5 separate regions of the Homo sapiens genome follow, and all the other regions are linked to region 2. Evidence: promoter capture Hi-C in 16 types of primary human blood cells and fetal thymus (Javierre and others, 2016). All regions are on one chromosome and are shown on one strand. The core of a region is centred on a gene start or on the middle of the fragment in contact, and the rest is flanking DNA. Distances in the headings are between cores, read along the strand shown.

The links. The method cuts DNA at HindIII sites, captures the fragments that hold promoters and counts their contacts. A CHiCAGO score of 5 or more calls a contact.
Region 1: a fragment that was not itself captured here is called in contact with the fragment with the promoter of AOPEP in region 2 in 4 of 17 cell types (M2 macrophages, endothelial precursors, M1 macrophages and 1 more); the score reaches 6.9 in M2 macrophages.
Region 3: a contact is called between a fragment that was not itself captured here and the fragment with the promoter of AOPEP in region 2, in 1 of 17 cell types (endothelial precursors). The highest score is 6.8, in endothelial precursors.
Region 4: a fragment that was not itself captured here is called in contact with the fragment with the promoter of AOPEP in region 2 in 3 of 17 cell types (endothelial precursors, megakaryocytes and naive CD4 T cells); the score reaches 10.2 in endothelial precursors.
Region 5: a fragment that was not itself captured here is called in contact with the fragment with the promoter of AOPEP in region 2 in 2 of 17 cell types (M2 macrophages and M1 macrophages); the score reaches 5.7 in M2 macrophages.

The regions. Positions count from the first base shown.
Region 1 is chr9:95,168,685-95,171,384 of GRCh38, reverse strand. It overlaps FANCC (FA complementation group C), which reads left to right. Exons shown (of 15, transcript NM_000136.3): 6 at 242-306. Among named protein-coding and RNA genes, the nearest start is that of MIR3074, 84 kb to the right of the region's middle. The HindIII fragment of the contact is 3,108 bases long and covers 1-2,700 here.
Region 2 is chr9:94,725,406-94,728,105 of GRCh38, reverse strand. It overlaps AOPEP (aminopeptidase O (putative)), which reads right to left and starts at 1,407. Exons shown (of 17, transcript NM_001193329.3): 1 at 1,355-1,407. RefSeq lists enhancers at 1,136-1,615, 1,138-1,680, 1,626-1,795. The HindIII fragment of the contact is 1,744 bases long and covers 1-1,645 here.
Region 3 is chr9:95,072,769-95,075,468 of GRCh38, reverse strand. The region is part of intron 14 of AOPEP (aminopeptidase O (putative)); the gene reads right to left. Among named protein-coding and RNA genes, the nearest start is that of MIR6081, 8.8 kb to the right of the region's middle. The HindIII fragment of the contact is 2,960 bases long and covers 1-2,700 here.
Region 4 is chr9:95,106,239-95,108,938 of GRCh38, reverse strand. FANCC (FA complementation group C) reads left to right here. Exons shown (of 15, transcript NM_000136.3): 14 at 1,670-1,873. LOC107987102 (a long non-coding RNA gene) reads right to left here and starts at 2,471. Exons shown (of 2, transcript XR_001746847.2): 1 at 2,167-2,471; 2 at 193-2,051. It also overlaps a transcript of AOPEP not described here. The HindIII fragment of the contact is 2,168 bases long and covers 318-2,485 here.
Region 5 is chr9:95,148,348-95,151,047 of GRCh38, reverse strand. It overlaps FANCC (FA complementation group C), which reads left to right. Exons shown (of 15, transcript NM_000136.3): 7 at 961-1,125. It also overlaps a transcript of AOPEP not described here. Among named protein-coding and RNA genes, the nearest start is that of MIR3074, 64 kb to the right of the region's middle. The HindIII fragment of the contact is 2,111 bases long and covers 387-2,497 here.

The DNA.
Region 1 (2,700 bases), core at 201-2,700, 440 kb before region 2:
TAATGACCTGTCTATTGTTCATTGCTTAAATAGGAATGCAGAATTATAGACATTAAACATAAAATCCCAATTATTAGTAAATGTGACATGGCACTGCTTCCTTTTCACTCTGACAGAGTGAAACATGAGAAGATGGGGGTTGGGGGAATCTCAACGGAAATATCACTCACACCAAGAAAAATAGAACTGATGTAATCCTGTTTGCAGCGTGAGTTAACCTGCAACTGATTTTGTTTTACAGATGGTTTTATCATTAGCGTCTGAACTCAGAGAGAATCATCTTAATGGATTTAACACTCAAAGGCGGTAGGTGTTAAACTAAACATCCTTCTTCTCAGGTTTCAAAATGTATCAGTTTGGTTATGAGAGGAAAATTTTACAATTCATAGGAAATGGATGTTCAGTTATGGTTGTATTTTATATAGAAAGATTATTTTAGTGGAATACATAGCAAATTGGTGAGTTTTTTCAAACTCTTTTAAAAATCACTATTTTCTCAACTCTCACAGAGCAGTAAGTAAATCATACAATGTCTTTTGTGGGCCCATTAGGTAGAAAGCCCTACATACACAGTAGGGAGCATAAAAGAAAGAGCAGTACTTAGTTTTACCCTGGGATTGCTCACTCTGCAAGAGGAGAATGTGCACAGATGCAAGTGTATGCTCTCACACTAGCCTGCCCTGGCTCTGCCTTCTTCTGCTCCCAACACACACACACACACACACACACACACACACACACACACACGATATTTACAAGGCAACATTTGATGTGAACATATGCCCTATTTTAAGAAACATGATATTCCAAAATCTAGACTAAACAAATCAAAGAGATTCAGACAAATTAAAAGGCAATTAATCACATTACAAATGTTTCTTCACTCTGTAAAAGAATCTCAGTTTTCATTGGTGGGCATTTCATTTTTGACATATCATTAACCAAGAGAATCTGGGACTGAGGGACTTGGTGATTTTTTTTTTTTTTTGTAAAGCTATTGCTAATTCAAGCTCTATCAGAAATTGTCTTTGTCCTCAACCTTTAGGAATCCTTTGCACCTAACCCTTAAACTATATAATTATTAGAGGAAAACATTGGAGATAATCTTCATTATGTTGGATTTGGCAATGTAAGAAGAACCATAGGAGACATGGAGAGTGTTTAGATTTATTTATTTACATGTCAGGTAAAGACTTGGATTTGGTTGTGAGGTGAATGTTGACTGATGGATCTTTTGAATTATGTAATTATAAATTTATTCAAAAAGACCTTAAAAATCAGTCAGTGCAGTGTGTATGTACTCCCTACACCAAACTCCCAAAATATGCATCACAGTTGATTTTTTAAAAAGCAGCTGACAATAAACAAAATAATTTTTAAAATCTGTTAACAAATAGAAACAAAGGATCAGAATGCAAAATATAGAAATGACTTGCAAAAATAAATCATAAAGAGGCAAACACTCCGTTATAGAAATGAGCAAGGAATATAAGCAGGTCATTACTAGAAGATGAAAACTGAATTAATAATAACATTAAAGGCGTTCTTCAGGAATGACATCAGCAAGATGGCAGAATAGGAAGTCCTAGACCTTATTTTCCAGTAGAGACATTGACTTAACTACAGCATACATCCCAAAAAATTATAGTGAGAACTACAGAACCAATTAAGAAGTCACAGTACTGCAGGCAAGCTCAAAGTCTAGAATAGCCACATTGAAATTGATTAAACAATCTGTTTCATGTCAACTGTGATAGCCCTTTTCCAGGTCTGGCAGCTTGGTGAGATTGGTAGGAAAAACCCAGCTTGTGGCTTCTCTTCCTTGGGAGGGAAAAAGAAGAGTGGAATGTGCATCCAACATTCTCACTTTTTAGGAAGCAGACTGAGGAACTGATTTCTGTCTCTACTGACCGGGAGCACTGATGAGGAAATCGCATACAGTAATCCCTCCTTATCTATAGGGAATATATTTCAAGACACCCAGTGGATGTCTGAAACTGTGGATAGTACCAAACCTGATTGCCACCAATCATAACACATTTCTGTATTCCACTCACAACTTTAATGTCTTTTCCATCGTAACTAAGCACTTATCATATATGATGGCTGTAATTTTTGCCATGTGAGATGCAACGACAAAACTAACAGAAATTTTTTTCCTTCTTTACAATTTCACAGATAGATGATTTGTTTTTACTATAGATCTCAGCAACCTCAGCATATGATTTTTTTCTTTCCTTATTAAGTTGAAAACTTTCACCTTTTCACTTAAAGAAAGCACTTTACAACTTCTCTGTGGCATATCCAAATTGCCAGCCCCAGTGCTCTTGGACTTTGAGGTCATTATTAAGTATTAATAAAATAAGAGTTACTTGAACACAAGCACAGTGATACTGTGACAGTTGATCTGACAACCAGTATGGCTACTAAGTGACTAACGAGCAGGTAGTGTATATATTATGGATACCCTGGGTAAAGGGATGATTCATGTTCCAGATGGGACAGAGTGGGACAGCATGAGATTTCATCATGCTACTCAGAACAGTACACAATTTAGGCCAGGTGCGGTGGCACATGCCTTTAATCCCAGCACTTTGGGAGGCTGAAGTAGGTAGATCACCCGATTTCAGGAGTTCAAGACGAGCCTGGCCAACATGTCAAAACCGCATCTCTACTAAAAGTACAAATTAGCTGGGCGTG
Region 2 (2,700 bases), core at 158-2,657:
TGTGTGCAACTATTGTAAAAAGCCTAAAATTTGAGCATTAGTAGAGTCCTTTAAGAAAAGTGCAGGCTTTGAAGTTATATTCAGACCTGAATTTAAATCTTGATTTTGCCATTTAGTTAACTGTGAATTTTTAGCAAGTCAATTTCATATAACCGAAACTCAATTTCCTTCTCTATAAATTGGGGGTAATAATTCCTAACTCACGAGGTGGTTGTATGAAGTAAGGAGAAAACATATGCAAAGTGTTGAACACAGTACCTGGGATAAAGCAGATGGGCCAACAGTAAGCAACTATTATTATACCCTAACCTTATTCTACTTTGTCCCCCAAATATTGGAAGAATCTAATCTTCCCAATTAGCAAGTCATTGGAAGGCTTCCCAGACTTATACGAAGCACAATATACACTATTCAAAAATGGAACAGACTAAAAGTATTTTAAAAATACAAAACCAAACAATCAATGAGATCAAGGATTTCAGAATTCTGCTTCTCGTCCCATATACTCAGCATCTATTCTGTCTGGTTTTGTAATAACCCATATTATTTCTTTATCAACCATATGAACCTTATTGTTGTTTTTTTGCGATCTAAACATCCCTAGCGGGTTATGTTACTTATTTTGAGGGCTACCTTTGCAAGGGTAATTGTCATCATTGCACGAAAACCAAAAAGAAATCAGGTACAAGGGGCATTTTATGCAATGCTATTAACTGTTCCATGCATCTCAACAGTGGATTGGATCCTAAGTGGATATTTTATTATCACAATAGATAATCATAATCACATTACTGTGCCACCCCCTCCCCGCCCATGCATGCGTTCATGAACAAAACTCCAGACTAACAGTATGAATGTTCTATAGGGACCCCAAAACTCAAAATGTGGTGCTCTCAGTAAAGATCCTCCGGGGGAAGAAGAGGCGGATGGGTTTCACTGCAAGTGGAAATGAATCGAATCGAAACTGTTCTGCCTACTTAAGACTGGAGATGAGCCCTGTGGGGCTAGAAGCCGAGACCGGCAGGTGACCGAGGGCCTGGAGGCAAGAGACGAAGGAGGAGGCACCCAGAGGCTGAGAAAGGTCTGTGCCGCCGGGGAGAAGACAGCCAGAGCCCGTGGCCACCTCTACAGCTGAGGTGGTAAGATGTGACCGCTCCGCCCAGTCCCCAGGATGGGTTTCAGCCCCAGGAGTCTGGGAGAACTGAGGAGGGGATGCGGGTCCTCGCTGGTCGAGCAAAAGTGAGGGTAAGGGAGGGTTCCCCGTCGCCTTCAGAACGGAATGATGCTGTCCCCGCCGCCATCCCGACGCCGGAGGAGAGGAAGGCAGGGACCCAACAGGGAGCGAACAGGTTACCTGTCTCAGCCGCGTCCCACGGGTCACCACTTCCGCAGACTCGGGGTTACTACGGGCTACCCCGGCACGCGCCGGGTGACGTCATCCACACGCGCCCGGGGCCGCATTCTGCCTGACCCGCCTTCCGCTAGGCCCGCCCCCTTAGGATGAGAGGGCGAGACCGCCCGGGGGAGATCTGCGCAGGCGCGGAGCTGCCGCGGTCATAGGAGGGCGCGAGCAGCTTGGCTGGCTAGGGCTTGTAGAGTTGCCCTGGTACCCTAGTATTCCTAATTGCAAAATCTTTATGAAGCTTAAGAAAAAAATCACCAGCCTGGGCAACCTGGGGAGGCCCCGTCTCTACAAAAAAATTAAAAAATTAGCCGAGTGTGGTGGCGTGCACCTGTGGTCCAGCTACTATGGAGGCTGAGGCAGGAGGATTGCTTAGGTCCAGGAGTTCGAGGCTGCAATGAGCTATGAACGTGCCACTACACTCCACCCTGAGCCACAGAGCAAGACCCTGTTTCAAATAAAATTTAAAAAAAGTTACTGAAATACAGATGTGCAATTTTATTCCTTAGCCTAGTCTCACCTCTGCTGCATGTGACTATTGTTCACATATTAATTCCACCACAATTTAAGGTCCTCCTGTGTGCCAGGCAAGCACCCTTAACAAAAGCTGGGGAAACAACCAGGAACAAGACAGACGCTGTGCCTTCCCTCATGGGGATTACTTTCTAGTTGAGAAAGCAAACATTAAATGTAGAAGGAAAGGCCGGGCGCGGTGGCTCACGCTTGTAATCCCAGCACTTTGGGAGGCCGAGGCAGGCGGATCACAAAGTCAGGAGATCGAGACCATCCTGGCTAACACGGTGAAACCCCGTCTCTACTAAAAATACAAAAAATTAGCCGGGCGAGGTGGTGGGCGCCTGTAGTCCCAGCTACTCGGGAGGCTGAGGCAGGAGAATGGCGGGAACCCCGGGGGGCGGAGCCTGCAGTGAGCCGAGATCGCGCCACTGCACTCCAACCTGGGCGACAGCGAGACTCCATCTCAAAAAAAAAAAAAAAAGTAGAAGGAAAATAAGTTGCTGAGAAATTAAAGGAAGACAGGTGACCTTTTGATTTGAGATGTCAAGAAAGTGCCCTCTGAAGAGGTTCAGTAAACTGAGAAGCAGCCAACTCTGTGGAGAGCTAAGGAAAGAACAGCCAAGAGAAGAATCTACATGTGAGCAAGCAATAGGGAAGGGGCAGAATGTGGTGCCTTGGAGAAAGTGAGAAAGTAGGTCATGGGAAGAACAGAGGATGAGATCAAGAAGGCAAGGAGAGTCCCCATCATGCACAGACTCTCTGGGTTCCTGTGAGGAATACGA
Region 3 (2,700 bases), core at 58-2,557, 350 kb before region 2:
TCATCTTTGATGAAACTGCAGCTTTTTCCAGGTTTGTCAATCTGTCTGACTTTGTTCATGGCGGTTTTGCTTGTATTTCTTAATTGCATACAGTTATCTGGCTTCTCAGTTCTCTTCATTGATGTTTAATGTTTCATGGGTACATATGCCAAAAGTAATCAAATGGTACACTTCAAATATTCACATTTTATTATATTTCTATTGTCAATATAGTTGAAAAATTTAATGACCTTTAAAACTGTGATTAAAATTCATCAAGTCACTCCAAATCTATGCCAGGAATCACCTGAGAGCCTAGAGTCAGCATGTATTTCAGCCCTACACAGACCCAGACCGCAGACCATGACCAAAGGGGCGAGGGAGGAAAATGATGAAGTTGGTGTGGGAGGGAAGGAGACTGGGCAAGTAGAGAAAGAACAAGACGGCAGAAGGGAAACAGGGACAGGGCACGGAGAAGTGAGAACAGAGCTGCCCGTGGCAGTGAGCACAGGGTCCTGGACACCTGCAGCACCCACACCTCTGCCCTGGATCCAGCCTCTCAAGCACCCAACACCTCACCTATCAAGGATGTGCTCATCTCTTCCCTCTGCCGCTGCCGGTGCTGACGCTGGGCAGCAGACAAGCAGGTGGCCTGGGAGGGGGAAGAGCAGGTGCGGCCTGGGCCTGGCTGGCCTCCTGACCTGCCGGAAGTGGGCGAGAGCTCACATATGAAATAAATCAGCACAGCTCTCGCAAGAAGAAGTGGCATCTGGGTCTCTGGATCCTTTCCATGTCATCACAGTGAAGTTGACTTTTGCACAACACACAGGTGTGCACCCTTGAATGCTTTAGTCCAATAAAAATTACTTTGGACATCTGCTGTTCAAAGTGTTCTGCTTACGGGACATGCTCAACAGAAACAATGACAGTGCTGCCCTCACTTAGCGTACAGGTCGGGGTAACACAGAGGCGCAATTTATACTGTTGGAAAGGGATTCAGCACTTTCCGGGTTTCCAAAGCCTCCATGAATACAGGGTAATGACAGCAAAGATTTCAGCTTCTCCTAAGAGTGCTCCACACAACTGCTTCTTTGAGGCTGGGTGCAGGTGGGAGGGTCTTGGAATCTAGGGTGGGAAGAATGAAGGGCAGGTATGTGGAAGCCAATTCACATCAGACACATATCTGGCAGTAGAGAATTAAAATCCTCAAGGAATCCAAGTAATGGTTCCAGGATTGTGGACCCTACCCCACTGACAGACTGCCACAGGGAGGACGGGGTATGTCTGTGGTACAGGCCTGAGCCACCTAGGAGGCCCAAGCAGACATGCAACCTGGGTATCCAAAAAGCACGTGGAAGGAAGCACACACACAGGCACTGGCTATGAGGATGGGGCTCACTGATTCCAAGCACATTCATGGCAGCCAACTGCATGACAGGCACTGGGAAATGGTGCGGGGCAGAGTGATGGTCAGTACAAACACGTATGCATATCTATGTGTGCATACGTATCCACAAATGTGTATATGTAGAACATATAGACACACACTGAAATCAAAGTGTTATTTCCCAACACTTTCCTTCACTACACGCAATGCAGTCTGGTATTTTTATTCTTTGTTTTTTGTTTTTTGAGACCGAGTCTCACTTTGTTGCCAGGCTGGAGTACAGTGACGCGATCTCGGCTCACTGCAACCTCTGCCTCCCAGGTTCAAGCGATTCTCCTGCCTCAGCCTCCCAAGTAGCTGGCAACACAGACATGTGCCACCACGCCTGGCTAATTTTTTTGTATTTTTAGTAGAGATGGGGTTTCACCATGTTGGCCAGGCTGGTCTTGAACTCCTGACCTCAAATGGTCCACCCACCTCAGCCTCCCAAAGTGGTGGCATTACAGGTGTGAGCCACCGCGCCCGGCCTGCTGGGATTACAGGTGTGAGCCACTGCGCCCAGCCTTCTGGGATTACAGGCGGGAGCCCCCGCGCCCGGCCTGCTGGGATTACAGGCGGGAGCCACCGCGCCGGCCTCTTCTTTCTTTTTTTAAAATGCTGACTGGTGACCTACTAGATGGATTTCATAACCCACTGTGTCTTGACTCCCGGACAGTGTGAAAACCTACATACAAGCTCGGCTTCCAGAGCCTGATGCTCCAGGCTGGACCCTCGTCGGCTCAGGCAAGCTGCTCTAACCAGGCCCCACTCCAGCTCCAGCTCCCCAAGATGGGGGTTAGAAGAGCGTCAACATGCAGGGAGGGCCACAGACAGGCTGGGCTGGCATGAGGTAGGAGGTAGGAACCACATGGCTGAGCAAGAGCCTGGGCCAGGTCAGAGACTCGCAGCAGGACAGCAGAGGGAGCAGGGGAGTCCCAGGAGTAGTAAGGGCCTGGGAAGAGCTACAGCTTTTCAGGCCATCTCCTGGGAGGGAGACCCAGGGACAGGCACCTGGGAATCCTGCAAACCATTTGTAAAGATGGCTCCCTTAGCCTTGCCCCAGCCTCAGCCCCAGCCAGACTCCACTTCTGCCTTTACAGGAAACTTATCACACACTACCCAAGAGGTTCCATGGAGCTGAACTCTGGAAGGCTCAGAAACACAGTGGAGGGGGAAGCCTGCTCTTCTGACTTCCTGCAATGCTAGAAAAATGGCACATGCCTAGAAGGGCCATTTAGAAACCACATCTTGGATTTGGGACACAGGTCCCGTGACAACGGGCATGTCTATGATAT
Region 4 (2,700 bases), core at 152-2,651, 380 kb before region 2:
GCAAGGCTCTGTCTCCAAAAAAAAAAAAAGGTCTTGAAGAGCATGTTCTATAGATACAGTGAACTGAACTGCTTATAGTACATTATGGAGAGAAAAATGAAAGATACAAGGCATTATGTGTAGTGAGTGGTATGGTCTCAGTGCGTAGAAAAAAGACAAGAAGTATATAAACCGAATTATTAACAGTGAGTCTTTTTGGATGGTAGAGTTATAGATCATTTTAATGGTTCTTCTTTTTCTCTTTTCAAATTTTCCATAGTAAGCATATATGTCTTTATAATGCAGGATAAAAAATACTTTAAAAAGAAAAGAAAGCTTTTATCTTTCTCCTGAAAAACTTAGGACATGTTTAAAGTTAGTTATCGGTGTTCAAGTGGAAGCCCATGAGCATGGACGGCCTCTGAAGGGAAAGACAGTCTGGGCCAGACATAAAGGAAGATAGACCCCATCTTAGGGATTATTGGACAAGGGCAGAAAGTCGGTTGTGGGTCAAGAGAAAAAACAGATATAAAGGCATAGCCTCCTAAACCCTGACATTTTTGCAGACCCAGTTAGATGGCAGAATGGCCTTGGGCTCCCGTAGACACCATCAGACCCGGCAGGCTGGGCCGGCTGAGGGGCGAGGTGGGGAGAGTGAGGCCTGCCCTGCTGGAGCGCTGCCGCTCCCCGTGGAAGAGCCCGATGGTGCAGTTTCTCACGGTCTTGTATTGTGGTCAGAGGAGCTCACACAACACACCCAGTGTACTGGAGTTTATGACAGACTTCATTGAATGAGGCCTTGACTTCCAGGGAAAAAAAACGCCTCACACAAAATCCATAAAATCGGTCATGGGAATTCTCAGAATAGGCCTAAGTATTCTTTCAGAAGTGATGGAACATAGCTGTTCACGAGTTCCATGTGGCATTTGGAGCTATGGGCTTTCGGTTTTTGCTTTGCTTTGTTTTCCAAGTCACGACTGGGTGTACCATTCTTGTAGCAAGCAGAAACATCTCAGCATGGAATGAGTATTTTTTATGCAAAAGCAACCTGCAGACTTATAATTACCATTATTATGTGGGTTCCACAGACTTGTGGCCTCTGCTTGAGCATTAAACACGTATGAACAGATTGTTCCGGCATCTAAAACAAATGTGTTCTTGTGTGTGCATGCATGTGTGTATGACCGTGCTTGTGTACACGTGCGTGCATGTGTGTGTGTTCCCCCCGACCCCCCGCCCTGACCCCCAATATAGCAAGAAGCAAAGGCAAGCCTACATTCGTATGGGAACACTGGCTCGGCGGAGGTCTGACTGCGTGGGGCTTTAATTGATTTGTGGCTGTGATAGGCGAGTCTTCAAGGAGCCTTTTGTTCTTTTTCCCACAATATAAAAATCTGACTACATTCTGTTGAGAACTTTTCTCTGTTTCCTTTTATACAAAAAAAGGTCAGTTCCTGGCATGGTGCCCTGACTGCTTGGTGAGCAAGACGAAAGAAAGTCAAGAAATTTCCATTCCGCCCATTTGGGTTTGTGTGAAATCGAGTGTAAATTCGGCCGCTGCCTAGCTCCCTCTCTCAGGGGCCAGTGCTTACCCGTTTCTGGGGGTTGTTTCAAAGCAAATAAATAAATCCTAGAAGTATGTCTGTCCTGCCTCTTCCTAACCTCTCCCCTGTGAAATACTATTGCCCAGGTCCAGGTGAAGGCCGTGCTGGGCCACCTCCTGGCAATGTCCAGAAGCAGCAGCCTCTCAGCCCAGGACCTGCAGACGGTAGCAGGACAGGGCACAGACACAGACCTCAGAGCTCCTGCACAACAGCTGATCAGGCACCTTCTCCTCAACTTCCTGCTCTGGGCTCCTGGAGGCCACACGATCGCCTGGGATGTCATCACCCTGGTAAGTCTCCCTGTGGTCCAGCATCCTAGTACTCATTTCTGCTCCAGGCGAGAGGTGGGTTACCTGTCCGAGGGTCTGGCCTCTGCACAGTGTGTGTACCAGGATGCTGCCCAGCACAGATAAATGGTCAAGGAGGTTGACAGCTGGGATGGACCCCAGAGCCTGCCCCTTCCAGCACCTTTATGTCATAGAAGAGAAAACAGAGGCTCAGAGACAGGAGATGCCATCTCCTGGGCCCACGGCTTGCTGCCAAAGCCTGCGGTAGAAGCCAGGTCTCCTGTCCCCCTACGTACATTTCTTTCCATCGCAGTGTGCTGCTCTCCTCCTCCTCATGGAAAGAAGTAAGGCCACGATGAGAATGGGCTCGCAAAGCAACCACAATGCTATTCACTGCAACAGTGCAAAGAATTCTGTTAATCTTTAAAAAAATTGGTTTATTACAAAGAAATCCTTCCTGAAGCCCACTTGACTTGAGGGGTAAAAAACGGTCCAAGTCAAAAGTGAGCACTCTTTGTGACATTAGATTTGGCAATGATTTCTTGGATATGATACCAAAGGCACAGCAATGAAAGAAAACAATAGATAAATTGGACTTTATGAAAATTAAAAGCTTTTGTGCATCAAATGATACTGTCAAGAAAGTGAAAACACAATTCACAGAATGGGAGAAAAATATCTGGAAATAATATATATGATTAGAGTTTAGTATTCAGAATACATAAGGAATTCTTATAACTCAACAACAAAAAGATAAACAACCCAATTCAAAAATGGGCAAAGGACTTGAACAGACATTTCTCCAAAGAAGATGTACAAATGGCCAGTAG
Region 5 (2,700 bases), core at 193-2,692, 420 kb before region 2:
GTACTGTAGCCGCCAGCCACCTATAGCTGTTGAGCACTTGAACTGTGACTAGTGCAGTTGAGGAGCTGGATTTTTAATTTTATTTCATTTTAATTCATTTGCATTTAAATTGCCACACATGGTAGACAGTATAGTGACATGGGATGATCAGAGAAGACCTCACTTAACAAAGGGACATTTGAGCTGCAACCAGGGAGCTAATCATGTATTTCAGGCAGAGTGAACAGCAGGACTTTATTTGGGGCAGTCAGAGGCAGAAAAGACAAAGGTAAGAGTGGAAGGAGATTAAGTCAGTGAAACAGATGGGGACCCACCATGGAAGGACTTGCTGGCTAGTGAAAGACATTGCTTATTCTCTACATGAGGTGAGAAGCCATTGCAAAGCTTTGAGCAGACAAGTGTTGTGATCGGAATTTTTAAAGGGGTGCTGGAACTGTTCTGATGTTAAACTATAGGAGTGAGTGCAGAAACAAGAAATCCAGAGGCTACTCTGTCACCCAGGCTAGAGGTGGTGGTGAGTTACTCTCCACTTAGGAGGACAGTGATGGAGGTGTTCAGAAGAGGTCAGATGTGTTGCTAGTATTCACTGATGGATCAGATGAGGGGCCTGAGAGAAAGGGAGGAATCAGGATTTGGGCCTGAGCAAACAAGATAGCACTGGGGAAAGGGAACACTGGGAAGGGAATTCAGGAGTTGTGTTTTGGACATATTAAGTGCCTGTGAATATAAAGAACAAAGTCCTGACCATGAATGACACTGAAACAGCAATGGTAGCTAAAAGATTTCTTCCTAAAGAATTGGATAAAAGAGAAGTGTTCATCGATGGTGTTAGAGTCATTCTCTTTATTTAGAGGCAAAACAGGTGATCTGTCTTTGACCTTTTTAGCATGAAGGTTTTTATATGTCCTTAATTATGCATGGCTCTTAGATTTGAGTGATTATTTCTTATTTCTTCCATAGAATGGCTCCCGAGCGAGTGGCGTCCCTGTCACGAGTTTGTGTCCCACTTATTACCCTGACAGATGTTGACCCCCTGGTGGAGGCTCTCCTCATCTGTCATGGACGTGAACCTCAGGAAATCCTCCAGCCAGAGTTCTTTGAGGCTGTAAACGAGGCCATTTTGCTGTAAGTGGCAAATGTTTCCTGTCATCCTGCGTCGTTTTTCCTTTTCTTAGAAGGCTGTGGTGTGTTGGAAAGACTGTACGACAGCAGTGTCCAAACGTTTTTGTCTCAGTACCCTTTATACTCTTAAAAATTACTGAGTATCCCGGCCAGGTGTGGTGGCTCACACCTGTAATCCCAGCACTTTGGGAGGCCAAGGCGGGTGGATCACCTGAGGTCAGGAGTTTGAGACCAGCCTGGCCAACATGGTGAAACCCTGTCTCTACTAAAAATGCAAAAATTAGTCAAGCATGGTGGTGTGTGCCTCTAATCCCAGCTACTAGGGGGGCTGAGTCAGGAGGATCGCTTCCACCTGGGAGGCGGAGATTGCAGTGAGCCGAGATTGTGCCACTGCACTCCAGCCTGGGCAACAGAGCGAGACTCCATCTCAAAAAAAAAAAAAATTACTGAGGATCCCAAAACATTTTATTTTTTTATTTTTAACTTTTATTTTAGGTTTGGGGGTACATGTGAAGGTTTGTTACATAGGTAAACACATGTCATAGGGTTTTGTTGTACATATTATTTCATCACCCAGGTATTAAGCTCAGTCCCCAGTAGTTACCTTTTCTGCTCCTCTCCCTCCTACCGTTGCTCAGGTAGGCCCCAGCGACTATTGTTTCCTTCTTTGTGTTCATACATTCCCAAGAGTTTTAAAAATCTGTTAAACCCTTATTAATATTTATCATATTTGAAACTAAATTTTTAAAAATGTGTTTGTTACTTAAAAAATAAAAATAATTTTATTACACGTTAACACAAATAGCTTATTTTTATGAAAAGCAATGCTCTTTTCCAAGGCAAAAAAAAAAATGTTTGACAAAAGCAGCATTGTTTTTACATTTTTGCAAGTCTCATTTTCTACCCTAAGACTGCTGAATTCTCATATCTGCTTCTGGTGGGACGTGTTGTTTTGGTTGAAGTGTATGAAGAAAATCCAGCCCCACATAGATAGTAATTGGGAAAGGCGGGAATATTCTAGTAGCCATTGCAGATCATTGTGGATAATTCTGCTTTGATAGCTCACCAAAATTTGAAAATGGTCATTTTTTAAAGGGTAGTTGCAATGTGGAATCTGAAATTATGTCAGTTAACTTTCCATACTCTGTTACATTAGAAACCCATTGGTCTGTCTTGCACTTTCAATGGATCTTTTTTGCCAACACACATAATTTTGTAGCATTATGCATGGTTCATTTGGAAAATCTTCATTCATTGAGTTATGTATATCTTCCAAACATTGACATATTTCATATGCAGTATCAAAACCTATAGTCATTACTGCCACCATGGAGCTCATCAGAAATGACTTTAAGTATTGGGAAGCTGTCAAGCTTATGTTGGTGGACATAGATTTTCCAAGATTCTAATTTCTGCTTAAAAGCTAAAATTTATCATGGGCTACAAACACTGTCAGTCATTTTCCTTAGGGGACTGAGTCACTTTGCTAATTATTGAGAAAGTATGTGCCTAATCCTAAAATGTGACTGACCACTGCCTGTCTGCTAGTCATTCTTTCAGGTCAATTTCCATGACAAA